Regions from separate parts of the Homo sapiens genome. Here all the other regions are linked to region 3. The links are contacts of gene promoters, found by promoter capture Hi-C in blood cells and fetal thymus (Javierre and others, 2016). All regions are on one chromosome and are shown on one strand. The core of a region is centred on a gene start or on the middle of the fragment in contact, and the rest is flanking DNA. Distances in the headings are between cores, read along the strand shown.

What was found. The method cuts DNA at HindIII sites, captures the fragments that hold promoters and counts their contacts. A CHiCAGO score of 5 or more calls a contact.
Region 1: a fragment that was not itself captured here is called in contact with the fragment with the promoter of NCAM1-AS1 in region 3 in 1 of 17 cell types (endothelial precursors); the score reaches 5.6 in endothelial precursors.
Region 2: a contact is called between a fragment that was not itself captured here and the fragment with the promoter of NCAM1-AS1 in region 3, in 1 of 17 cell types (M1 macrophages). The highest score is 5.2, in M1 macrophages.
Region 4: a fragment that was not itself captured here is called in contact with the fragment with the promoter of NCAM1-AS1 in region 3 in 4 of 17 cell types (total CD4 T cells, endothelial precursors, naive B cells and 1 more); the score reaches 9.4 in total CD4 T cells.
Region 5: a fragment that was not itself captured here is called in contact with the fragment with the promoter of NCAM1-AS1 in region 3 in 5 of 17 cell types (M0 macrophages, M2 macrophages, endothelial precursors and 2 more); the score reaches 9.3 in M0 macrophages.
Region 6: a contact is called between a fragment that was not itself captured here and the fragment with the promoter of NCAM1-AS1 in region 3, in 4 of 17 cell types (total B cells, monocytes, naive CD8 T cells and 1 more). The highest score is 12.1, in total B cells.

What each region holds. Positions count from the first base shown.
Region 1 is chr11:112,514,157-112,518,578 of GRCh38, forward strand. All of the region lies in intron 2 of LINC02763 (long intergenic non-protein coding RNA 2763), which reads left to right. Among named protein-coding and RNA genes, the nearest start is that of LINC02763, 34 kb to the left of the region's middle. The HindIII fragment of the contact is 971 bases long and covers 1,765-2,735 here.
Region 2 is chr11:112,619,909-112,624,098 of GRCh38, forward strand. It overlaps LOC124902757 (a long non-coding RNA gene), which reads left to right and starts at 1,596. Exons shown (of 2, transcript XR_007062892.1): 1 at 1,596-1,857; 2 at 3,906-4,190. RefSeq lists an enhancer at 1,173-1,222. The HindIII fragment of the contact is 2,206 bases long and covers 1,560-3,765 here.
Region 3 is chr11:113,270,869-113,275,274 of GRCh38, forward strand. NCAM1-AS1 (NCAM1 antisense RNA 1) reads right to left here and starts at 3,033. Exons shown (of 3, transcript NR_034101.1): 1 at 2,756-3,033. NCAM1 (neural cell adhesion molecule 1) reads left to right here. Exons shown (of 20, transcript NM_181351.5): 19 at 892-1,008; 20 at 4,399-4,406. The HindIII fragment of the contact is 7,964 bases long and covers 1-4,406 here.
Region 4 is chr11:112,284,758-112,288,959 of GRCh38, forward strand. The region is part of intron 1 of LINC02762 (long intergenic non-protein coding RNA 2762); the gene reads left to right. Among named protein-coding and RNA genes, the nearest start is that of LINC02762, 16 kb to the left of the region's middle. The HindIII fragment of the contact is 2,402 bases long and covers 1,150-3,551 here.
Region 5 is chr11:112,589,631-112,594,029 of GRCh38, forward strand. No RefSeq gene overlaps it. Among named protein-coding and RNA genes, the nearest start is that of LINC02764, 36 kb to the left of the region's middle. The HindIII fragment of the contact is 609 bases long and covers 2,251-2,859 here.
Region 6 is chr11:112,310,111-112,314,388 of GRCh38, forward strand. The region is part of intron 2 of LINC02762 (long intergenic non-protein coding RNA 2762); the gene reads left to right. Among named protein-coding and RNA genes, the nearest start is that of LINC02762, 42 kb to the left of the region's middle. The HindIII fragment of the contact is 4,420 bases long and covers 621-4,278 here.

The DNA.
Region 1 (4,422 bases), core at 1,000-3,499, 760 kb before region 3:
CCGTGCTGCCTCCAGCCCCAACTGCGCGGTTCTACTGTAGACCTTGAAGGATGGCAAGGAAGAAACAATGGTGCCAGTGGGTCCCTGGAGAGAGGGGACTGCAGGAGATCCATGGGGAGGGGCTGCAGTAACTGAGACTCTATGCCCATCTCCACCAGCTTGCCTGCCCACTGCCAAACTGCCTATTGCCATGTTTTTGTTTCTTGTTTATCTGACAGGATCACATACATACATATAGTTCCTTGTATACCCAATTCATTGGGTGGAGTACTTTGATTTGTAGCTTAACCCTGCCCTGTACTTAAAAGGTCTGGGTCCCAGAGCCCCGTGGCTGTCTCACATGGTTCCCTAGCAACCAAATGAGACAGCGAAATGTGCAGTTTCATCACCACAAGATGTTAGGTCAATTAATATTCATTAGCAGTGCCTGTGTTTGGCTGCTAGGAGACATTGTGGGGAAAAAAAAATCTTTGTTGCTTGAGTGGGGGATGGAAGGAGTGAAGAGACCAATGAATATGTATATTATGTACTGAAGATGTGTTTTCTTAGACTAGTACACTGGCCTGTCTGCACATGTGCATGCAAGATTTTAAAAGATTAATCTTTGTATTTACAATTATCCTTCTAAGTTTATTATATGGAAATAGATTACAGAAACAATAGGAAAGTTGTACCCCAAAATATTTATCATGGCTCATTCAGGACACCTAAAATTGTACAATTCATAGTGATTTTATTTATTCTATAATTTTTTTTCTTATTCCATTGTATGCTCCAGGTGGGAAACTTGGATGCTTGAATAATACATAAAAGAAGCATAGGAGGAAAAAAATTCAGAAATTTCCTGTGTACTCATCATGTAAAGATAACAGCTTTTAACGTGTTGTTGTATGCCCTTTTAGTGTTCTTTTCATTCCAGAGAACACACACACAGTCACATACGGTTTTACAAAAATATCATTTTATATGTACTGTCTTATAGACTACATTTTATAATGTGGCATTGTCATTACGAACATTTTCTTGTGTCTAACATCATTTTTATTAGTCACATAATATTTCAGTGATTGTATTTCCTATGGTTCATTTAACCAAACTCCAATTTTTATTCACGCATTTAGGATGTTTACTTTTTTTGCTATTAATAATGTTGGAATGAGTATCCTTGTACATTCATCTTTCAGTCCTTGTCCAATTATTTCCTTAGAGCAAACTCCTAGAAGCAGAATTACCCACTTAAAGGTCTTTCACATGCTGCGTCGTGTTTTCTTTCAGAGAGAACAGAACAATTTCCATTTGTACCAATAGCGAATGAAGGTACCCTATGATCTTCTTTATAAATAAGACTGGAAAAGATCATGAAGTTCCCAATGTCCAATATCTGAGTTTTATCAGAGACTTCCCTTAATGAGGCTAAAACGAGAGCCCTGGCTCCCTTTGATGGGGAGGGCACATATTCTCAAAGAGGGGAATCTGGGCTGCAGAAGACTTATGATTTTGACTTGACCCAGCTAAGTATTTTCAGGAAATTTGTCCTCCATAGCCCCAAAGTGCAGCGTGAAACCAGCCAGCATCCAGGTGCTCCCTGCAGTGAGAGTGTACACCACTGGCCTCCAGACTCTTGCCCATCCTGTGTTCCCGATGTTTCTGCCCACCCCCCTCCCCTGCCCACAGATCTAGTTTTAGTCTCATGGCTCTGGTTGCCCCAAGCCCCAGCTCCAGGAAGATGACAGAGGGATCAGGCAAGCCCTGAGGTGAGTGGTAAGCTTGTCTCTGGGAAAGAGAGAGGACAGGTCTCAGTTCCCTTGGGAGTCCTGAGGAGGAAGACAATGTAGTATCAGCAAAGGCCAGGGGCACCTGTGACCTGAGAAACAGGTGACTAGAAAACCAAACCAAACTGCTCCAGATTAGGGCAGTCCTTCCAGTTCTGTTCTAATTAAGAACAGTTTCCTTTGTACTCCTAGAAAACAGAACCCCCCCCACCCTCAAGCTAGGTGGGACAGGAGGTGGGGCAGAAGAGTGAAAACAGAAGGCCTATTTGGCCCCCTTTCCTGGATTCTGTTTAAAAATAGGTTCTGGTCATGGATGACCAAGGACCATGAGCTGAACTTCCCAATCAATGGAACCAACACAGACACTTGTGCCCACTGGGCCAGGCTGGGCAAAAGAGCCCACTCCAGAAAAAATTAGTGGGCCTTGATGGGAGAAATGGGACAGAATAGGGCAGTGGTTATTTATTGAGGTGTGTGTGGACCAGCAGCAGCTGCATCATCTGGGAGCTCATCAGAAATGCAACTGCATGGGCCCCACCCAAACTGCTGAATTGGAATCTCAAAGGATGAGGCCTGGAATGTGTGATTCACCACGTTCTCTATGAAGCACTTGGGGACAGGAGTTCTTTGCAGAACATGGGGACAGGAGTTTTCAGTCTTGGCTTTTTCTGCCATCCCGTGAGATACCAAGCAAGCCTCTTTGTCTCTCTTGGCTTTATGTAAGGATAAGTAGACTTGATACTTTTTCCTTCAACTCTCTCCTTGTTAGTATAAACATCTAAATAAGGTATGCATGTGTGTGTACATGTATGCATGTGTGTATGTGTGTTTGTGTGTCTGTGTATGCATGCACATGTGTGTCTGTATATGTGCATATATGTGTGTGTACGTGTTGTGTGTGTGGTTAGTTTACTCTGGTTCTTCTTTTCCCTTCACCTTCCATTCCCATGAGATGATAAAGAAAGCTTATTGGAAACAAAAACTCAGAGTCAAAACCAACCAATGATGTTTACTGTGAAGTCATCTGAGAAACAGGATGTTGAGGTTCTCTAAGGAGCTGCTTCGCAGCTCCTAGCAGAATAGTGGGTTCTCCTGTAGAAGCAGGACACAGGTCCTTACAGACAGAAGCACAAATAAAATACCAGTTGGATTAGAGGTGATTTAAATTTATGGCTTTCCATCAACTTTATCACTTTAGAAAATGCTCATTCCAATTGAACTATGTTTTCTTTTCTCTTAAAATTAACTGGTTGAGCTTAAGTTTCAATGAAACATTGCTATCCAAGTTTTAAGGGCTATTAAGGGTTCATCACATTAGTGAGGTCCATTTGTTTTAGGGTATACTCTGGAGCCAATGTGTCTGGGTTTGAGTATAGGCTCTAACAGTTATAAGTGAGTAACCTTGGGCAAGTCACTTAACCTCTCTGTGCCTCAGTTTTTTTCACCTACAAAATGGAAATAATAGTGACTAGCACAAAGTATTGTGAGGATTACGTGGATTAATATATGTGAAGTACTTTATAATAAACAAAAAAGCAAAGTACTGGTATGAAAACAGACACATAGACCAATGAAACAGAATAGAGAACTCAAATAAAGCTGTACACCTAGAAACATCTGATCTTTGACAAAGTCAACAAAAATAAGCAATGGAAAAAAGACTCCCTATTTAATAAATGGTGTTGGGACAACTAGCTAGCCCTATGCAGAAGAATGAAACTGGACACCTTCCTTTCTTTATATACAAAAGTTCACTCAAGATGAATTAAAGATTTAAATTTAAGACCTCAGGGCCGGGCACAGTGGCTCAGGCCTGTAATCCCAGCACTTTAGGAGGCCGAGGTGGGTGGATCACCTGAGGTCAGGAGTTCAAGACCAGCCTGGTCAACATGGTGAAACTCCATCTCTACTAAAAATACAAAACTTAGCTGGGCATGATGGTGTGTGCTTGTAATCCCAGCACTTCGGGAGGCTGAGATGGGTGGATCACCTGAGGGTCAGGAGTTCGAGACCAGCCTGGCCAACATGGTGAAACCCCGTCACTACTAAAAACACAAAAATTAGCTGTGTGTGGTGGCATGGAGCTGTAATCCCAGCTACTCAGGAGGCTGAGGCAGGAGAATTGCTTGGACCTGGGAGATGGAGGTTGCAGTGAGCCAAGATCATGCCATTGCATTCCAGCCTGGGAGATAAGGCTCCATCTCAAAAATGAATAAAAAATAAATACAAAATTAAAAAATTAAATGTCAGACCTCAAAGTATAAAAATCCTAGGGAATATCATTTTGGACATTAGCCTTGGCAAAGAATTTATGACTAAGTCTTCAAAAGCAATTGAAAAGTGGAACCTAAGTTAGCTAAAGAGCATCTGCACAGCAAAAGAAACTATCAGCAAACAGGCAACCCACAGAATGGGAGAAAATATTTGCAAACTATGCATCAACAAAGGTCTAACATTAAGAATCTACAAGGAACTCAACATGCCAAAAAAAAAAAAAAAAACCCATTAAAAAGTGAGCAAAGAATATGGATAGACACCTCTCAAAAGAAGACATGCAAGCAGCCAACAAACATGAAAAAAAAATGCTCAGCATCACTAATCATCAGAGAAATGCAAATCAAAACCACAATGAGATACCATCTCACACTAG
Region 2 (4,190 bases), core at 1,413-3,912, 650 kb before region 3:
TGTGTGTGTGTGTGTGTGTGTGTGTGTGTTGCATATGCCAGTGTGGTGTGTTGCTTTCAGAGCTCCTGTCAAATGCAATTTAGTCATGTTTTCATACATCCACATTTAACCCTTACAACAACTCATTCAGGGTAAGTGACGTCATTTGCATTTGAGAGGCATTGAAGCTGCATTTCGAGGCTGGGCGTGGTGGCTCATGCCTGTAATCCCAGCACTCTGGGAGGCTGAGGTGGGTGGATCACCTGAGGTCAGGAGTTCGAGACCAGCCTGGCCAACATGGTGAAACCCTGTCTTTACTAAAAATACAAAAATTAGCCAGGTGTGGTGGCATGTGCCTGTAATCCTAGCTACTCAGGAGGCTGAGGTAGGAGGATCCCTTGAATCCAGAAGATGGAGGTTGAAGTGAGCCGTGAGCCGAGATCAGGCCACTGCACTCCAGCCTGGGAGACAGAGCAAGACTCCATCTCAAAAAAAAAAAAAAAAAAAGCCCTATTTTGGAGGGTAAAGAAAGTCTCTGACTCTACGTCATCTTGGGCACTGTGATGCCTCTCCTTTTAGCTCTCACACAGTGTGGGCTTCAAAGACAACATTGCTTAAATGCCCAGCTCCCTCCAGGTGGGAGAAGTAACTTGCTCCAAAAAGAAGGCCCATTTGCCAGAGTGGCTCAGGATCAGACCCCACTGGGTGCAGCTGCAGGCCTTGAGTGCTCAAGAAACTGGTGCTTCTGGGAAAGGAGACCAAGCAGGTCCTATACTCCTAGAAGAGCTGCTGCACCTCAGGCAGTGTGCACCCACATTGCTGAGCTACTTCAGTGCTCACCTTGGGCTAGAACCAGTTTCCCAGGCTGCGATGTGGACATCTCTGAGACTCTAAGTGACTGGGAAACTGCAGAACTGGTTTCCAACCATGACTCAGCAGAGACACATCCTCTTCCCCACGGCCCAGCACCACTGGCATAGAAGCCCCGCTCAGCACCGGGGAGAGAGTATTCCACTTTCTTGTCTGTCTAGGTAATTTATCACCCAGAAACAGGGTTATAGAGAGATGTTTGACTCTGAAATGACTCTTGTGGGGAACAGGAAGAATAAACCTGTCCCTTAAGTGCCATGTCTCATTCTGGCTGCAGGGGAGGGACAGGAGGAGAGTAAGGTAGAAAAGAAGGTGGAGCAGGAAAGGCACGAAAGGGAAGCTGGGTGAATGTGAGAAGTTCTGTGGAGAAAATGGTGGTATGGGGTTACTAGATGAGGAGCTAGAGCCCTAGGCTGGGGTGTCAGGTTTCCCTCTGACCCGGAAGCAGAACAGTCCTTAGACATTCTTGGTAGAATCACTGCTGCTCAGTGATATGTGAGTTTCAGAAGCCCTGGCCCCACCCTGGGTGTATCAGCACCTCATAGTTAGGGAACAGAGACCTCACAACACCAGGAACCATGGTACCTCTGTGGCTCTCGGGAGCTGAGGCTGGGGCAGAAATGAAGTGATGTTTGTCCTGGGCCCTGGATTAGCTCTGAGGCCAGGGTTGGGAGAGGGGAAGTGCAGCTCTCAGAACAAAATCAAACCAAAGCTTGTTCCCATGAGGAACAGGAAATTTAAGGGAATGAAGTGCTGTACTTAGGTTTCCAAGACCCTATGCTTGCCTCAGTTTCCCTCAAGTCCATTTCCACCCAATTCCATTGAAGAGGATGCTCTGTCATTCTGCTGCCTTTCACAGTGAGGAGAATCACTCTGTTCCTACTGATTGAGTAACCTGCTTCCTTTCTTCTTCATTTCCAATGATACAGACAGGACCTGGACTAGCTTAGACGAATGAGGCACTTGCCTCTGGCACAAAAGGGGGCACCAAACACCTCGGTAATCAAGGTAAATGATATTTTAATACAACATTTAGAAAATAAAAAATCAATGCAAAAAATCCTTGATGCACAAAATATTCAAAATTTCAATCAAGACTGGATTGGTACTAATTTCTCCATTTGTCTCAGGCTCCAGTATGGCTGGGCACTGCACAGTGCTGGATACAGATATCACTCAATGTGCCTTCAGGGTGGGAAGGGAGTCCAGCAGAAACAAGACAAACAGGCCCCCTTTATGCGTTGGAAATTGAGCTTCCAGTCTAGTGGACAAGGGAAACAGTGGAACAAATGGGTCAACCATCAAAACTTGACAATTGTGATTGGCTTGACAAACAGGGTTTTGTGGTGGATGGTTTGGATAGGATAGTTAGAGGAGCTTACCTGGGAATGTGATGTTTCTGCTATAATTTGAGGGATAAAAAGGAGCCAGCAGTTATAGGTTGAATTATATTCACGCAAAATTCGTATCTTGAAGCCCTAACTTCCATGATCTCAGAGTGTGACCTTATTTGAAAATAGAGTCATTGCAGCTGTAATTAATTAAGATGGAGTCATACTGGAGTAGAGTGGGCCCCTAATTCAATATGATGGGTGTCTTTATAAAACAGGGAAATTTGGACACAGCCACCCATGTGCACACAGGGATAACACAGGCAAAGATGTCAAGATGAAGGCAAAGATTGGGGTGATGCTTCTATATGCCAAGGAACACCAAACATGGCCAGCAAACACCCAGCAGCTAGGGGAGAGGCCTGAAGCAGATTCTCCTTCAGCTCTCAGAAAGAACCAACCCTGCCAGCACCTTGATCTTGGACGTCCAGCCTCCCAAATTCAGACGATAAATTTCTTTTGTTTAAGCCCCCAGTTTGTGGTAATTCATTAAGGCAGCTCTAGCAAACTAATACACAGGCCATGCAAAGACAGACATCCACGGGACACGACCAGTAAGAAAAGTCCCTGAGGGGAGTAAGGGATCAGCCTGTTTGGGGAACTGGAAGACGGTAAATGTGTCCATATCACAAAGAGTGAGGTCATGAGGTGAGCAGGGGCTAGTTCATCTAGGAGGACACTCTGGAGTAATGGATTTTACTCCAAGTACAAGGGGACCTTGCTACTTTCCTATGACCCCTCGACTTCACAGCAATTTCACTGAACCCAAGATATTTCCAACCCCACTGAGCTAAAACTTGCTGTGTTTGTGAGTGAGCCTAGGGGTGGAGTGGGGCATTAAAAGCAGAAAAGATGTCAAGATTTAATGAACACCTCCTAACTCCCCAGTGGACAATTCTGGATGTCCTGGGTTTTTGTTTTGTAAGGCCAGCCTCTGCCAATTTACTAGCTTAATAACCACTATGAATGATCAGGACATTGAGCCACCAAAGTCGTCCAAGTGAAGATTTTAGATGAGGATGTGGAAGTGAGGGTGGGGAACCAGGAAGCAGAGAAGAAGACTGACATTTTGAACCCCTCCTATAGAAAGTGGATGTGAGGACAAAAGAAGTACTGAAACTCAGAGGGACTGGACCTCTTTCTCCTTGTAAGTCAAGCTGAACATGTAAAGAGGAGCTGACAGGAGAGTTTGTCCTGCTGGCATCAGCCTCCAGGGAAGTCCCCCAGCTTCCTGGATGTCTCTACTCTTGCTGTTGTCTGCTTGGACCCCATCTTCAACAGCAGCTCCTAGGGCTTGTCTGGAGGCCCTAGATCAAAGGTGCTTCCCAGCCTGAGCACCTGTAGAGGTAGCAGCTGTATTCTTTAGGTACAAGAACAGCATAGTTTTCCAGCGTGTGTATAAAGGTGTCTTCTTCCTCTGGGCAAATCACTCCCAGGGGCAAGAGCCACCAGTATCAACTTAGCAATCTTTGTCAGTGGCAAGGAGGTGACACTAATCTAAACCACAATTTTCATAGCCAACTTAAGCTTATTTTCTTACCTTGTCTTTTCTTAGAACTGTATCACTTCTTACACAGGTTCTTTTTCATCATTTATAAAACCATGGAGGCCTGGAAATGAACCGAGAGTGACTATTCATGCCTGAGCTAATGTCTCTTCCCCCAGGGATACTGCTGGAAGATGGACAGTGAATTGTCAGAATTCAGAAGTTCCAGGTCAGAGGTTGACTCAGCCACCCCTGGGCTGATGGAACCATCAGAAGGATCCTCTGATTCAGTCCCCAAACTGGGCCCTGTGGAGCAGCATCCCAGACAGCAGGAATCGGACCTGCAATTACTCCTTGGGACTCAGGGAGGAGTTTTAACAAGAAAACTGCACATCTTCAGAGCAGGTGGTCTTTTCTGTCTCTATAATCAAACAAAAATTTTTTTCGACTGTTCTATAACAGAC
Region 3 (4,406 bases), core at 1,783-4,282:
TTGTCCTTATGGAGCTGATGATCCAGATACTGTCCCTCCAACAGCATCTTGGAGAAACAGATCCTAAGCCAGTTAGCAAGAGCCTTCGAAGACTGTCACTGGGTGGAGCAGAGCTGGAGCAAGCCAGAAAGGGACTGAGCAAGGAAATAAGTTGTTTAGCACCACCACATGCCAGGCACTGTATATGCATATACATGTATGTGCATGTACTTAGAAATGTATGTATAGGGGTGACTCACGCCTGTAATCCCAGCACTTTGGGAGGCCGAGATGGATGGATCATTTGAGGTCAGGAGTTGGAGACCAGCCTGGCTAACATGGCGAAGCCCCGCCTCTACTAAAAATACAAAAATTAGCCAGGCGTGGTGGCATGCTCCTGTAATCCCAGCTATTCAGGAGGCTGAGGCTGGAGAATCGCTTGAACCCAGGAGGCGGAGGTTGCAACGAACCAAGATCACGCCACTGCACTCCAGCCTGGGCGACATAGAGAGACTCTGTCTCAAAAAAAAAAAAAAAAAAAAAAAAAAAGAAAAGGAAAGGAAAAGAAATGTATGTATACCTGTGTACAGAGACAGATGTATGTATTTGAGCAATGATCTGTGTCAGGCACTGTGTTTAGCACTTCCCATGCATCCTTTCATTGAATTCTCATAACTAGGCAAAGTAACAGTGTTTTTGCCTCATTTTACAGATGAAGGGACTGAGGCAGGGTGATTAAATCTGAAGCTCAAGGTCACACAGCTAGCAAGGGTTGGGCTGAGACTTATACATTTGAATCTGTTGGCTCTGGATGCCCACCGTGCCAGCCTTGGGTTGAGTCATAGCTGCTCTTCCGTGGGAGCCCCTCCCTGCAGCTGCCCTAGGGTCTAACCAGCAGTACTGTCTCCACAGGAAAGATGAGTCCAAGGAGCCCATCGTGGAGGTTCGAACGGAGGAGGAGAGGACCCCAAACCATGATGGAGGGAAACACACAGAGCCCAACGAGACCACGCCACTGACGGAGCCCGAGTACGTGGGCTGGGAGGGGCTGGCACCTGCTCCGTAGAGACCCCCACACCCACCTCCCCACCCTACCCCCACCTCCCGTGCCCCTACCCACAGCTCCCGGCCAAACAGTTCAGGCCAGGATTCCAAACCCTTGGCCACAAGACCTGCTTGGCTGAGAAATGCCTGACCTCAGGCATTTCTGGTTCTATTTCGGTGGCTGTGGGTACCCTTAGAAGGCTCCTGTATAAGTAGGGATCCCTGGATCCCTAGCCCCTGTTCTCAAGTTATACACATATTCTGGAAATGGCTTAAGGTGGCAAAATCTCACTGAAAGGCTTAGCAGAGTCTGCTTAGGATTTCTTGAAATTCTAGGGTTTTGTGTTTTCCCCCTGAAAGGATAAGGGAAGCTGGGGACCTGGTAAAGTTCTCTGCCCCTCCTCTGTTCAGAAACCTCGGGGACCCACGGAGCCCCAGACCAGTTGTGGTTGTAATGCCTGCCTAGCTGTCAAGGATCTTATGGGCTTAAAGGGAATGGAGTTTCAGGGAACCACAAAATCTGTGACTGGAAGAACCCACAGCTCCTATGAGCCATTCTGAGTACTCGTGATCTGCCTTATTCGTGACTTTTCCCATCGGTGCCCTGGGGAGCCCTGCAGGACAGCTGGGCCCAGTTCCTCTGGGACCTGGGAAGCCTAGAGCAGGTGGATGCTGAACAGAAGCCTGCCCCTCCTTGAATGGAGATCCAGGGCAGGGATCAGGAAGCCCTAGGCAGGTCTGCAAGGACTTCAGGGAAAGGGAGCTCTATGCAGAGAGCTGGAGAGACATCAGCAGGGAAGGGCTAGCAGGTCCCTTTTGAGACCGCCACGTTCTCTGTCGTCTCCTGTGTCCTCTTCTGCCCACCTGGGCGTGTGCTTCCTCTCAGCATCCTTCTCTCTCTGTGGGCCTGTGTCCGTGCCTGTGCCTAACTGCATGCCCCCACCCCCATGGTCCCTGTCCTGGGCTTCAGCCCTCCTCCTCGCTTCTCTGTCACGTCTCAGCTTCATTGTCTATTCTCTTCTACTTCCTGTCCTCCCACAGGCTGCCTGCCGACACTACGGCCACTGTCGAGGACATGCTGCCTTCTGTCACCACCGTCACCACTAACTCTGACACTATCACCGAAACCTTTGCCACTGCTCAGAACAGCCCCACCAGTGAGACCACCACCCTGACCTCCAGTATTGCCCCGCCGGCCACGGCCACGCCTGACTCAAACTCTGTACCGGCTGGCCAGGCCACCCCTTCCAAGGGGCCCAGCGCCTCTGCCCCCTCCCCGGCCCCAGCTTCAGCCCCCAAGGTCGCCCCCCTCGTTGACCTGAGCGACACCCCGACCTCAACCCCTGCCGCTAGCAATTTGTCTTCTAGTGTCCTGGCTAACCAAGGGGCTGTCCTCAGCCCAAGCGCCCCTGCTGGTGTCGGGGAGGCCTCTAAGGCTCCTCCGGCCAGCAAGCCCACCCCTGCACCAGTCCCCACCCCGACTGGGGCAGCCAGTCCTCTAGCAGCAGCGGCTGCCCCTGCCACAGAAGCCCCTCAGGCCAAGCAGGAGGCTCCCAGCACCAAAGGCCCGGACCCGGAGCCCACCCAGCCCGGAGCCGCGAAGAGCCCGGCCGAGGCAGCCACAGCCCTTGCTAGCCCGAAGAGCGAGGCTGCCTCCGTCAGCACCACAAACCCTTCCCAGGGCGAGGACTTTAAAATGGACGAAGGGAACTTCAAGACCCCAGATATTGACCTTGCAAAGGATGTTTTTGCAGCCCTGGGCTCTCCTGCTCCCGCCGCTGGGGCCAGTGGACAAGCCCCTGAGCTTGCTCCTTCCACTGCAGACAGCTCTGTTTCGCCTGCGCCAGCAAAGACCGAGTACGGCCTCTCTTTGTCTGCTGTCATCGGGTTGTGTCCTGTGGTGGTGTGCATTTGTGCTGTGCTGTGTCCTCCTTGTTAGATGTGTCTTCAGCCTCATCCAGGGCTTCTCTGAGGCGACCGTCAACCAAGGGGCTGGGATAAGGCAGAGAGAGCAGGACAGGCAGCTGGGCCCCAGGAGCAGCCGCCTGCTGGCTAATTAGGCCATGTTAATTATGTTTTATCCTTATCATCCTAGCAGCGGCTTCTGTTTTCCCTGGGGGAGCCCTTGCAGTCAGGCCACTGATGAGAATAGCTTGGGAAGCAGGCTAAGAAGGCCAAGGTGCCCTTATCAGCCACCCTGGGGCCCCCAGTCGGTGTGTTATTCAGTGCCAGGCTGAGTCCCTACCAGAAAGGCACTGATGTGCAGGAAGAAAAGAGGTAGGCCCCAGGCCCGTGGCAGGGGAGGGTGCAGTTCAGAGGTCCCCTCACACTGTGGCTCAGATGCTCACCCTCCCCTCCCAACCCCGGCCCCCAGCCCACTCTTGCTTCTCCTGCTCTTAGAGTGGCTGGGAAGACTCGGGGCTCCCCAGCATCAAATGGCTGCTGGGTCTCAAAGTTCAAGAGAAAGGCCTTAACCTTTCAGGTTTGTAAGTGTCTTGCCAAAATTCAGTGGCACCAGCTGAGGCTGGGGTCTGTGCCTGTCCCCATGCATCCTCAGACCCGACTCCCTTTCCTGGAACTGATGGAGGCAGAGTCAGACCTAGATTTTTATAGAGGCTCCTATGGCTGCTCCCCAGATAAGCTGCCATGCTGCCACCATGGGCTGCAAGGGGCTCTCGCCAGGAGCCCTGAATCTCAGCATCGGGAGGGAAAAGGACTCTGATAGCCCTGCCCACTCAGCTGCCCTCAACTCTCGCATAGCCACCAGGCCCACTCTAGTACCCCACCAGGCTGCCATGAAAAGCTGCCTCCATCAGTGTTTTCTCACCCTACCCAGGCAGGCCCTAGAGGCATCATCCTGCAACAGCACAGGGTGGGGTGGGGAAGGGACAGGCAAGAGTGGGTTGCAAAGGGGCCCCTGAAATCAGTGCTGGGAGCCCAGCCCAGCCCAGCAGGCTGCATTTACATCCAGCTGAGCTGTTGCCACTGCAGCTGGTCAGGGTGAGGAGGAGCTGCCTCTGCTGCCCCCTTCCACCACCCCAGGTAAAAACACAGCCTCTGGCATCAACTTAGGGCTGGAAGAGGAAAGGACTCGTTCTTCTGACTCAGTGCTTCTCAACTATGGCTGCACATTAGAGTCACTTGGGTGCTTTTAAAAGTCACTGTGTCCGGACCAATTAAATCAGGATTTCCGCGAACACAGCTCGGGCTTGGGTGATTTTTAGTGCTCCCAGGTGATTTGACGGGCAGAGGTTGGAGCCGGGTGCTGTCACTGGAGAACCCCTCCTCCTCCCTGCTGTCCCCAAGGCCTGGATGCAGGGGCGAGATGTCTGCAGACCGTGGTCTCAGTGGTTCTGTTTTCCTGATTCTCTGCAGGAAGGGCC
Region 4 (4,202 bases), core at 1,101-3,600, 990 kb before region 3:
TGTCAGCTATTTCTATGGTGGGAGATGACTGACCCCTGGCCCTGTGAAGCTGGTGGGCATGAGGTACGAGGCAGGTGGGTCAGGGGCTTTAGGCTGCTCTAGGCCCCACGCAGGTTCCTTCTGCCGCCTCCAATTCTCAAGGAAATTCAAGGGAGAAGTGTGGCACCGGGGAAGGATGGATCCCATAGTAAGGACTGAGAAGTGGGGGTCAGGGCAGGTCTTCCTTAGGCGCCAGAGCGGCAGTGGTGGTGAAAGCCGTGCCTTGCAGATGGTGAGCTTGTGGGTGCCATAGTGGCAGCCTGAGGTGGGGGCTGCAGCAGAGGGAATTCCGCTTCAGGGCTGGCTCCTGAGTCCCTGAGGCCATGCTGCCTCTCAGAGAAGGCTGCGGGACCTGCTGCCACAGCTGGTGAGAGCTTAGATGATCACAATTTGGGAACTGAATGTAAACGTGGTCTGACTTTGTGGTCTCCAGGGGTGAGATCTAGAACATTCTGGTAATGATTTCATAATCCTCCCCCACTCTCAGGGAGGCCCCTCACTCACTAATGGTGAAAACTCCTTCTGTTTAAAAATTCTTTTAAAGTTGTCAACTTTTGTCTCTGCTTTTGTGTTTGTGTCTGTTTGTCTATCCCTCTCTCCTTGTTCTCTCTTTTTTTTTGAGACAGAGTCTTGCTCTATCGCCAGGCTGGGGTGCAGTGGCGCGATCTCAGTTCACTGCAAGCTCTGCTTCCCGGGTTCAAGGGATTCTCCTGGCTCAGCCTCCCAAGTAGCTGGGATTAAAGGCATGTGCCACCACGCCTAGCTAATTTTTGTATATTTAGTAGAGACGGGGTTTCACTGTGTTGGCCAGGATGGTCTCAATCTCTTGACCTCGTGATCTGCCCACCTCCCAAAGTGCTGGGATTACAGGCGTGAGCCACCATGCTCAGCCTGTTCTCTGTCTCTTGTATCTCCCCATGACCTTCAGTGTTCAGACACTGGGTCACCTCTCATTTCCTAAATGTCTGTTCTCTTTCTTGCCTCTCCAAGTTCAGCTGCAGAGCAGCTGCATTCCTCAGTAGGCAGTGGGAGAGACTCTGTCTTTCTCCTGCGCTGCAGCCCGTCTCATCACAGGCTTCAGGTGGTCCCTTTGGGCTCCCACAGCAGTCAAGCTTCCTGCGCATGATTAAAGGGATGCTGGTGCTTCTGAAATAAAGCACCAGGGGCAGAGGCTGATGGCTCAAGCCCAATCCCCAGGTCTCCCAGAGCTGGCTTCCCTGGTAGGCAATCACAGACTTTGCAGGGAGGAGCCATCTCCTTTGTTCTTATGTGTTGCTTCTTTCTTGCTACCCAGGCTCATGTTAATTGCTTTTCTGACATTTTTTCTGGCAAGTGATTTTTGCTGCTGCTTGTGGAGGTGACATGGCAAGCCCACAAGGGAGCGATAACAATGACCTAATGCAGAGCCGAGGAGGCTGGGGCTCCTATACGGGGTAGAAGATAATGAAGTTGAGTCATGAACAATTTGTTCTAAATGGTCAGTGAGATAGGCTCAGAGCCTTCAGAAATGAGAGTAGCCTGTGGCCAAGGCTTTCCTGAGAAGTTGTTCCCTCGGCCTTTGTAGTTCTGGCAGACCACCCTTCCTGGTGCAGGGACCTCAGGATGTGGGAACCTGTGCACAGGGCTAGATGATTCCTAAGGTCTTCCAAGAGCTTGTGAATGTCGGCAGCACAGAGACTAGAACTATGATGATCCTATCTTCCCAGCTACCTGTCAGAACACGTAGTCTGGTAATCCAGCAACTCCATTAGCCCAGATATTTATTCCACTTACTCTGTGCCAGGCATGGTGTTAGCTGGAGACATGACAGTAAATGGGTCACAGTTCCTACCTCAGTTCAGCTCACAGCCCGGATGGGAGACAGACCCACACTTAGATAATTATAATGCAGCAGGGCGAGTACCAGGATCCAGTGATGTATGGGGGTTATTCTGAGCACAGAGGAGAGGTCTCAGGGGCCAGGACAGGCTTCCTGGAGGCAGCACCAACACTACTGAGTCTTGAATAAGCAGAAGTTATAGCTGGGCCAGGCCAAGGGGAGTATAGGGGTGAGGAGGGAAGAGCTGATTTCTTCTCCTGCCTGAACCACCTGTTTAAAAGCAACATGGGGAAACAAAGCCATATGAAGAGGGGAAGTTGACAAGCACAAGTCCCTTGACTCTACAGAACAAATTTTAATCTCCCTTTCTTTGTACGAGGGTCTCCAACTCAGTGTCCAGCCACCCAAGCTCTAGCCTGTGGGGACCCTTCATAACTCCTCCCAGGGGGTCAAGGCAACCCAGCATTTCCTGGGGGATGCAGATGAGTGTGGCCTAATAATTCTTGCTCCAATCAGCGACTGTCTAAAATGTGGGCAACCTGAGCACCCAGTGCCATCCAGAGCTCAGGGTAGGTGCTCATCATGTCCTTGATTGCAGCTGCATGTGTGTTTGCCTCTTACCTGTCATGATGATCAACAGGAGCTCGGCAGTTGTAATCAGCAACGAGAGTTACACATGTCATTAGGTTTACAGAGTAACATGGGCCAGGCCAGAAGATATGTCTGCAAGAGGTCTCCTTGGTATGGCCAGCTATGGCCAGAGGAATAATAAAGGCAAGGCCTTCCCAGGTGGGCACCTCTGCTATTTTCTACTGGAGGCAGGGGCTGAGTCCTCGAGTGGGGAAATGCCGATGTGGCCAGTTTCTCTAAGGACTCTGGGGCTCTGTTGGCCCCTTGGCTACATTTCTTGACTTTGCCATTGTTATTATTAGCTTTTCTAGGTGGATAATGGGATAATGGGAGGCAATGTGGTTAACATTTTTTTTAAAAAAAATAAATGTTGGCCGGGTGCGGTAGCTCATGCCTGTAATCCCAGCACTTTGGGAGGCCAAGGCCAGTGGATTACCTGAGGTCAGGAGTTTGAGACTAGCCTGGCCAGCATGATGAAACCCTGTATCTACTAAAAATACAAAAATTAGCCAATGTAGTGGCTCATGCCTGTAGTCCCAGCCACTTGGGAGGCTGAGGCAGGAGAATCGCTTGAACCCAGGAGGTGGAGGTTGCAGTGAGCCGAGGTTGTGCCACTGCACTTCAGCCTGGGTGACAAGGGTGAAACTCCGTCTTAAAAAAAAATGTATTGTGTGTATCGAAGGTATCCAACATGATGTTAATGTGATTTTATGAAAAGCAGCCTTTGCAGTCAAGTAGACATGAACTTGAATCTTAGCTCTGCCACTTCAGCTGTGCAGCTTTGAACACTTAACTTCTTTCAATGTGAGTTTCTCATCTATTAAATGGGGTTAATCATGTCTATTTGTATCTATTTCCAAAGAGTGTTGTGAAGATCCAAGGGGATAGCACGTGTAAAGCACATTCTTCTTACCTTTTATCTCCCTGAGCTGAGTGTAGAGGCTGCAGTCATTCATTGAACAATTGTTTATTGTCTACTTATTGCTAACCATTGTTGCGGGTTCTGCGGAAACAGTAATGAACAAAAGTCTCTGTTCTCATCAAGTTCACATTCTGGTGGGGAAGCTTGAAAATAAGTAAGTAAACTAAGCAGGATAACTTCAGATAGTGATAAAAGCTATACAGAAAAGGAAACAGGCCCATAGGATAGAAGTGATTTGGTGGGAGGCCTGAAGAGGCTTTAGGGAGCACAGTGGTCTTTGAACCAAGACCTGGAGGCCAAGAAGGAGCTGGGCCTGCGGAGACCTGAGGAAGAGCATTCCAGGCAGAGAGAAGAGCAAGGGCACAAAGTGCTGAGGTGGGAAAGCATTTGGCAAGAAAGAAGATGCTTGCAGGAGGAGCACTGTGAACCCTGGGGAGTGTGGGATGAGGAGAGGAGCAGGAGTGAGTTCCATGCATGTTCCCAAACTCTGTGCTGAGGTGTTCTTGGAGCTGCTGTGGATTCAGAGGGGCTCTTTGAGATATTTTAAAGGCCAAAGGCAACACTCAACTTTTGTTGGGCTCCATGCAAACTACTAAGTAGTGCAGGATAGCTTGAAGACTCAATATTAGATTGCCCTACAGTTTTTTTTTTTTTTCCTTGAGATGGTGTCTCACTCTGTTGCCCAGGCTGGAGTGCAGTGGTGTGATCTTGGCTCACTGCAACCTCCGCCTCCCAGGTTTAAGAGATTCTCCTGCCTCAGCCTCCTGAGTAGCTGAGAATACAGGCACATGC
Region 5 (4,399 bases), core at 1,305-3,804, 680 kb before region 3:
ATGTGACAGCCCTCTGAGGACTTTAGGTGGATCCAGGCTTTGTGGGGTTTGAAGCTTGTACAATTAGAGGGAGGTGGCTTTAAGAAAAAGAGAATAAAATTACAAACACAAAAGTGAATCTTGATTCAGAATGACACAAAATGAATCTCACACACACAAAATCACTAGAGCCCTAGAAAGTCAGGTCTCTTTTGAGATCTCTTCAAGCAGTTTATCAGAAATGCTTATATAGAAACACTTCCACACATGCACACACACACACACAAACACACCCTCCATCCCTGTCAGCCAGACTTCCCCTTCCCCCAGAACACTTCCACACAGAAACTCCCCACGATCCCAGGACCATGAGGTGAAGGGGGTGGGAGGCTTAAGCTTTGCCAGGCAAATCTGCTCTGCAAGTAGTGTGATGACCGCCATTTTGCTCTGGTGATGCTGACTGACACATTATAGACTTGTGCAGGACACAGCCCTGATAAGGTGTGAAGCTGAAATTTGAAATCAGAACTTCTGCCTCTAAACCCTAATGTGCTTCCCACGGCAGGCTGCAGTCTCCCTCTATGCTGCCACAGTGCTCTGGGACTCTGTTGGTCTAGCCTGAAATCCACTCTGGAGGGCCAGTTTTGGTCTGAGTGGCAAATCCTACAATCCTCTTCCTTATCCTGAGGCCAAGGAGAAGCCCTAAGGACAGGAGAGCGGTGGTCCTTTCTGGGGGAGATGAACCGTTCCTGCTGTCGCAACTCCTTTCCTTCGAATGCTCGCTCCATTCTTGGTTGTTGACTCCTGCACCTGAAAAGGGCTTCACATCTTCTGCAAGGGACTGGCTTTCTGAGGGATAGGCTCTGTGAGAGGGGCTCTCAGGAGAGGCTGTCTGAGGAAGTGACTCTGTTTGAGAGGAGCTCTTGGATGAAGGGACTCTCCGAGGAGGGGCTTTTTTCGGAGGGACTGTCTGAGGAAGGGGCTTTCTGAGGGAGGTGCTCCCTGAGAGGGGCTCTCTAAGAGAGGGGCTGTCTTTGGGAGTGGCTCTCTGAAGGAGGTTCTCCCTGAGGGAGGCTGTCTTTGGGAGGGGCTGTCTGAGGAAAGGGCTGTCTGAGGGGGCCTCTCTTTGAGGAGGACTGTCTGAGGGAGGGGCTGTCTGAGGGAGGTGCTCCCTGAGGGGGGCTCTCTAAGTGAGGAGCTGTCCTTGGGAGCAGCTCTCTGAAGGATGTTCTCGCTGAGGGAGGCTGTCTTTGAGAAGGACTCTCTGAAGGAGGGGCTCTCTTGGCCTGTCCTGTCCTGTCAGACCCACAGGGCTAAGCGTGTCTTTGTTATGACTTTGTATCCAGGCCTCCCTTTTGAAGGCCTTTCTCTACTCTCACTTCTGACTGCCCTTCCTCTGAACCCTGTCTTCTTACTCCCTCCTCCCTTTCCCAATAAAGTCTTTCCCTCTGAGCAAGGATCTATTGTTAGTCATTTGTGTCTTAGGGTGAATTTAAGTCATTTGGTTTCTTCCTCCAGGATGAGTTGTAATTCTCCATTAAGGAACAAAAGCCCTAACCCTTCAAAGGAATGGGAGGCAGGGGAGTAGATGAGGGTTGTGACCTGACTTGGGGATGGGGATGGAGGGATTTCCACAATTTTGAAATTATATCTCAGAGGCAGCTGTTATACTTTTTTTTTATTTGTAAGGAAAGAAAGACAGAAAATTTAAATGGATTGGCCATCTACCAAGGTCCTGTGCTAGATACTTTCAGAAATGTTACCTTATTTAATCCTCAGAGCAACTGTGAGGTAGGTATTACAATACTCTTTCAGTGGATGACCTGGCTGAGGTTAGAGACAGTTACAGGGTCACCTAAAACAGAAGGAATAATTTTTTGGTAAGCACCTGTCTTGTGCCTGGCACTCCATTATTTCTTCTCCCAAGTGTCTCATTTATTCTTAAAGCACTGTCAAGCATGTAGTATTAGCTCCTGTTTTTAAATGGGAAGGTTGAGAATCAGAGTAGTGAAGTGGCTTTTCCAAGGTTCCAGGAATGTGAGAAATTACCTTAATGCAATGTGGCCTCTGCATACTCTACTAGATAAGTTCTGTCAGAGGTGTCAGAATAGGAGGATTCACGGGCCAAATTAAAGTGCTTAAACTCACAGTTTACTAAATCTGTTGAAAACCCAAAGCAACAGCAAGGGGAGAGGGATAGGGTAGGTTAGCTCACTTCAGATGGGAGCTGCCAGGTGGAAGCACCATACTCCTTGGATCCTGGGGTATATAAGCTTGTGTATCTTCCCTCTCTCTGCTGCATCAGCCTTCCCTGCTGATGGTGTGGTTATGAGGATCACAATTGAGATTTGAGCAAGAAGGCCAAATACACACCAAAGATCTCTTGGGCCAAAGCATAATTTTGCTGTCTGACAGGAGGAATATGGGGGCTAAAACAAGTTTGCTTAGCTATAGCTACAGCTTGCCAATTAGCCTTCCGAACAGTCGAGAATGTATTTGCATTTCTTTCTTTCTTTTTTGAAACAGAGTCTCTCTCTGTCGCCCAGGCTGCAGTGCAATCTTGGCTCACTGCAAACTCTGCCTCCAGGGTTCAAGCAATTCTCCTGCCTCAGCCTCCCAAGTAGCTGGGATTACAGGTGCCCGTCACCATGACTGGCTAATTTTTTGTATTTTTAGTAGAGATGGGGTTTTGCCATGTTGGCCAGGCTGGTCTCAAACTCCTGACCTCAGGTGATCCAACAGCTCGGCCTCCCAAAATGTTGGGATTACAGGTGTGAGCCACAGCACCCGGCCTTATTTGCATTTCTTATACAGAGCACCTGGGGCCAAAATGAGACCCTGTGGGTGTCAATCAATGGGTACCTAATTTAGAGTTGATAAAGCTTTTAGCCCAGAGATGGCATGATTATGACTTGTTATCTCTATGACTTTCTATCTATAGTTAGTAGATAACACTCTGATTTGTTTTATTATATGTCCCATTTACAGTATATATCTTTAGGATGTCTTACAGGTTACTAACTCAGTAGCTATAATTAGCATATCTTATGAATTCTGCCTGTCTCACAAGCTGCTTACTCACTCATCATCTACACTTCACACATCCTATGGGTTTTGCCTATACCTCGTAAGCTGCTTGTTTGCCTTCTATCTATGCTAGCTTTAGTTATCCATTGCTATATAGTAAAATACTCCAACACTTAGCAGCTTAAAATAACAATTCACATTTTCCATCTATCATAGTGTCTGTGGGTCAGGAATTTGGGAGCAGCTTGGCTGGGTCGTTCTGGCTCTCATGAGGTTGCAGTCACAATGTCACCCAGGGCTGCTGTCATCTTAACTGGAACTGGGGGATTTGCTTCCAAGATGTCTTGGATGTGGCTGGCAAGTTGGAGCTGGTGATGGCGGTAGCACCACATGAACTGCTCTGCAGGGCTACTTGAGTATCCTCATGGCATGGCAGCTCTCTTCCCCAAGGGCAAGTAGTCTAAGGGAGAGCAGTGTCTTTATGATCTGGCCTCCAAAGTCTCACACCATCATTTCTGCAGTATCCTATTGGTTATGCAGAACATCCCTGCCCACCCTGGGAAAGGAATATACCGGGGTCAAGGAGCTAGGACCACTGGGGTCATCTTGGCGGCTGGCTTCCACAATGAATCCAAAATTACCTGATGCTTGTATGTCCTTTTAAGTTTCATCCACCCAGTTTGCTTTCTTGATTCTATAACAGAATTGGCTATCCAAAAATAATGCAGCAAACTCACATTACAGTCCTGCAGCTAGTAGGTGGTAGAGAGGCCCATCTGCTTCCAAACCTTTTCACTTCCCCAGGCTGCCTCCTTGGGAGACTGGCTGTATCTCATGCCCTAAGCTCTGAGCAGATTTTGAAATATTAAGTTACAGCTATTAATAACAAGAAAAGCAACTATAACAGCGATCATAATCATCATCATCATCACTGAAGCATGCTGCTCAGTAGAAACATTATGTACAAGGCCCTCACAGAGCTGCCCTAGGGGGAACTGAGAAGAGCTCTGGGCTAGTGGCTTAACAGGAGAAGGAGGTGGTTGTTTCCTGTAGAAGATACTTTCATCCCCTAGACATGGGACTCATGACTGAACAGCACCTAGAAGTCCTTTAAACTTAAGATGTGAGACATCATAGAGCCTCTTACATCTGGACACGCATCCCAATCTAACTTACATTTCAATTTACCATCCTCATAAATCCTGACCACTACTTTTGGTTATAATATTGTCCAATGTGTTCAATTCTGTTTTGCCTCCATTTATGGTATTATATTTGCTTCTAATTAGTGGCATCTCCTTTCTGGGGCCATGCAGAAAGGTCATTATTAATTCATGCCTGATTTTCCCAGAGGTTCTGGTCTTGGCCTTTGCCAAGAACAGCAGTTGTTTTG
Region 6 (4,278 bases), core at 1,581-4,080, 960 kb before region 3:
AGCTAGACCAATTGAGAGGCTCTTTCAACAATTCTGATTATTTTCATTCATTCATTCATTCATCAAACATTCATTTAGGTCTCTGCTGGGCTATGTGATATCAAGTCACATAAGAAATGATCCTTGTTTTCAAAGAGCTCAAGGGAGCTCAGACAAGTAAACAAATAAATCATTATACAGTGTGCTCAAGTATTGTAACTGGAATGAAGTGACAAGTATCTAGACTGGGATGTCTCCATGAGATAAAAAACATGAGTGTCTGGAATACTCTTTCTTTGGAAAAAAAATGGCAACGAGTAAGGTTTGATAAAGGGTTGCTCTGGGCCCTCCTGAGGGAGAGAATTGACATATCTTTTATTTGTTTTATATCTCTGCATCCTCTTTCCTCTTTCTCTTGCACACACTGACACGACATCTGATGCAGGCCAGTGTTGCCCAACAGGCTGAGGGAAAGACTAGGGAGAGCCTCACAATGGAACCAATGGTTTCTCTGTCGTTTCTCAACCTTTGTGGATAGAATCTCCACCCCTGCCTGGCTGTAGTACAAACAGTGAGCAAATTCTTGATTATGCAGGAAGGTGAGCCTCTGATTCATTTTTGATGTTCAATGTTATGAGGCAAGCTTCCTGGCCATCTGTTCAAAGGAGGAACATGGTATATATTTTGATTATTTTATTTTTATCTTAATCAAGTGGCAACTTTCCATCTTGACGTATCTTAACCTGAGCAGTTGTGGCTGGGAGGCAATGGGCTTGAACAGACTGAGGAGGGAGGGGGAAAGCTATGCCACTTGGCATAACGCTGATGTTAGATGCAGGAGCAAAGGCCTCTCAGCACAGCCCTTTCACCTGCCTAATTAGTGAAGAAATTGCAAGCCCTCCAATGGGCACTGAAATGCTCAGAGCGCCAGCCTCCTGGGGCTCATTACACAAATGAGGGCGGAAGACAGGAATGGTCAGGATCTGCTGGTTACAGCCTGGGGGCCGAGGGGAGCCTGGGCTGGGGACAAGAGGCACCTGGAACTGGAAAGTGGCGGCTTCTTGAAATGGTATAGGGACGCAGCCCACGTCTTAGTCCATTTACCGACATTAAGGGATTGAAGTTTTTCCAGCCAATGGCATTTGATGGAAATGTGCAATTATGTTCCAGGAGCTGGCTCTAGGACCTCACGGAGTGAGTGAGATGGAGTAGAGAGCTATAATCTAGCCATTTGTCTTAGTTTGGGTTTCCCTGAAAACTAAGCCTGAAACAAGGATTCAGGAGCAGTGAGTTTATTTGTGGAGTGATCCAAGGCAAGGGAGTGAGGGAGCAGAATGAGCCAGGCGGGGAAGGAGGAAAAGTCAGTCTTGAGTTGGCTGCCATGGCGGGCAACTGGGCCCAGTCCTGGTGAGGATCTGTCAGGAGTGTCTCCTTGGACACTTCACTCTGGAGGGGAGGTGGGTGCATTTATTCTCTGATTTCTAACCCATTCATTGAGGTTGCCTTCTGGGGTTGCCGTCAGACTGCCCTGCATGCTAAGATCCTGGAATTTCGGATAAAAAGCCCTGAGGGAAACAAATAGACCAGCAGGATGCTGGAGGTGGCCCCTGCACCATTCATGGGGACTGACTCTTGCAGCTGCAGCAGAAATCCTGGTGGCCTAAGGGGAAGTGGTGTGGGGGCACAAAACACATCCCAGTCACTCCTGGAGCCAGGAAGTGGGGAGGAGAGGGTTACTGCATGGTTATCAAGAGTGACGGTGCATGAGTTTGGTTGGGATAGGGGGCACCAATCTCAGTCCCCAAACTCAGATGGGTAAGAAATCTCCAATTCTGTCCTTGCCCATAAGTAAACCTAATTTTCACTCCATATTCCCATCATACTGTGCTAGTCGGAAATTTAATCTCATATGAGACTCTCCTCCCTGTGTGCCAATTTTCTTCCCAGCTCCATAGTTGGTTCTAGGTTTCTGTGAGCCACTGGAAGACTCTGGGCAGATATCTATAGAGAACAGACTATTATGCTTACATTGTGCATGACTTTTTTGTGTGTGTGAGGTGGTAATTCTTCTGGTTAACTAGTCAGGTCGAACAAACTGAGTATTTTCTTTTTCTCTTTTGCCGGTGTCTTTATTTTGCACACTTTGGGGGTCTTCTGTGAATTACTGTGCACAGAGAATGTCCCTTTGTAAGAAGATGGAATGGTTTTTGTGGCTGGTTACTGTCCCACTGTCCTTCCACCAGTGGCTTGGTCCCCTGTCATCTGGGAGCTCATCCTTGTAGCCATCTCTAAGTGACACAGTGGCCTCAGTGTGTGAATACTGATATCTAGATGCTGGCAGTGCCTGGAAGAAGTTGCTGTACGTTCCTTGTTAGTTTCATATAAACAGAACTATGGGTCTGTTTATTTTTTGACTACTCAGAAAGACCTTTTAAAATTTAATTAAAATTATTCTGTAAACTTGAATTTGTTTGATGTCTAGTTCTATAAGTTTTAACACATATATACCTTTGTGGAACCACACCAACACAATCAGGATACAGAGCTGTTTCATGACTCCCAAAAAAACTCCCTTATGCTCCTGCCCCACCTGTAACCCCTGGAAACCACTAATCTGTTCTCCATCACCATAATTTTGCCTTTTCAAGAATAAAATCTAAATCTTTGTATTTCAAATGTTGGCATAAAATCCAATAGTTAAAGTAGTTCTAGTCTTGTATTCACACACACACACACACACACACACACACACACGTTCTTATCTTCTGGTTTGTTGCAGCAAGGATTAGACAGCACTTGCATAGTAATGTGGGTTAAGGTGGCCCATGAAGACGCCATCGGAAGGACACCCTTGGAGAAGGCGACCCATTTTGCCAATCTCCGTTAACCTTATTGTATTTCAGAGCAAATAACCTCACCTTCTTTCTCTTACACTTATTCTTCTTTGGAGTGTTATAAGATGACTTCTTAGCACCATGATGTCTCAACAGCAAAAGAGGCCTTTTTTTGAATTTTATATTCAGACATTTGTGCATCCATCTTCCAGTTGCTTGCCAGCAAAATCAATCCCTGTTGATTGGAGGAATCTTAGCTTTCACATTTTTTATTGTATCCATGGGTTCAACCTTGAGAATAATAGTCTTTCTTGTTAGGGCTTTCATGAAAATGTGCATCTTGGCAGTGTGGGTCTACTGGAGATAGTGGATCTGAAAGGAAGATTCGGTTCTGATGAAATTTACTCAAATTTATCTGAAGCTGAATTGAAGCTGGGTTATTGCAGGAAAAAGGAATGAGAGGTCTAGTATCACAACTGGGGTTCTTACCTAAAGACTCAGAGGGAACAGTCATCACTGTAATGAGACCACCCTGACTTAGTCACCTGGACTGTTAGAGGAATCAGTTGAAGCTGTTCTGAATGAAGCAAGAGACTCTAAGAGAACCTCCTTCTCACCCAGTGCCCACAAATTCTGTGCTCAACCATTTCGATCTGTCTTTCTGCTCAGGGGCAGGCTTGGTGAACCTTCAGTTCTAGTGACTAGCTAGCGGTCAACACTTCCTCTCTATGCAGGGGGTGATCTTGTCCCTTCAGGTCCACCAGGGCAACTGGACTTTTGCTCCATACTAAATATCTTGGAGATCTTTTCATCTCAGCCCCTATAGATCAAATTCATCTCTTTGATGGTTGCATAGATATTGCATTGTGTGTATAACTTCAGTTTGTTTAACCAGACTCCTATTGCTGAATGCTTTAAGGCTCCCATAGTAGAATTACATTTTTATTGATTGACTTTTGAATGGGGGAACAGCCAGTGTTTAGAGGGGGACATAATGGAAACAGCAGGTCTTGGGCAACTTCTCCCATGTCACAATATTTTGAAGGGTGGCTTCATCTAAGAATCTTGAATGAAAATAATTCAGTAAATTATGAGCGAGAAATGAATTCTTCTAAATCTACTGGAGGCTAGAAACAGATTCATTGGTGTCCTTGAGATCAGAGAAGAGTATAGAGTCAATAACTTGAAAACTGGGTTCATTGAAACAACAGGGGCTGGTCCACAAACTTTCAAAGTTCATGTCTCAAATCAAAACCTTGGCCTCTAACACTCAAGCTGCTTGATGTGAAAAGCAGAGGTGGACAACAGCAAAAATTAACACTTCAGAAACCAACAATGCCGAGAGCAAATGGCCATTTAGTTTCTCCACCAAACTTCCCTAATCCAGTTTGATTGTTCTTGAATAGCACTGGCTTAACAGTTTGTAAAGTAAATACCCTTCCAGATTTTTGGGAACCGTTGCCTC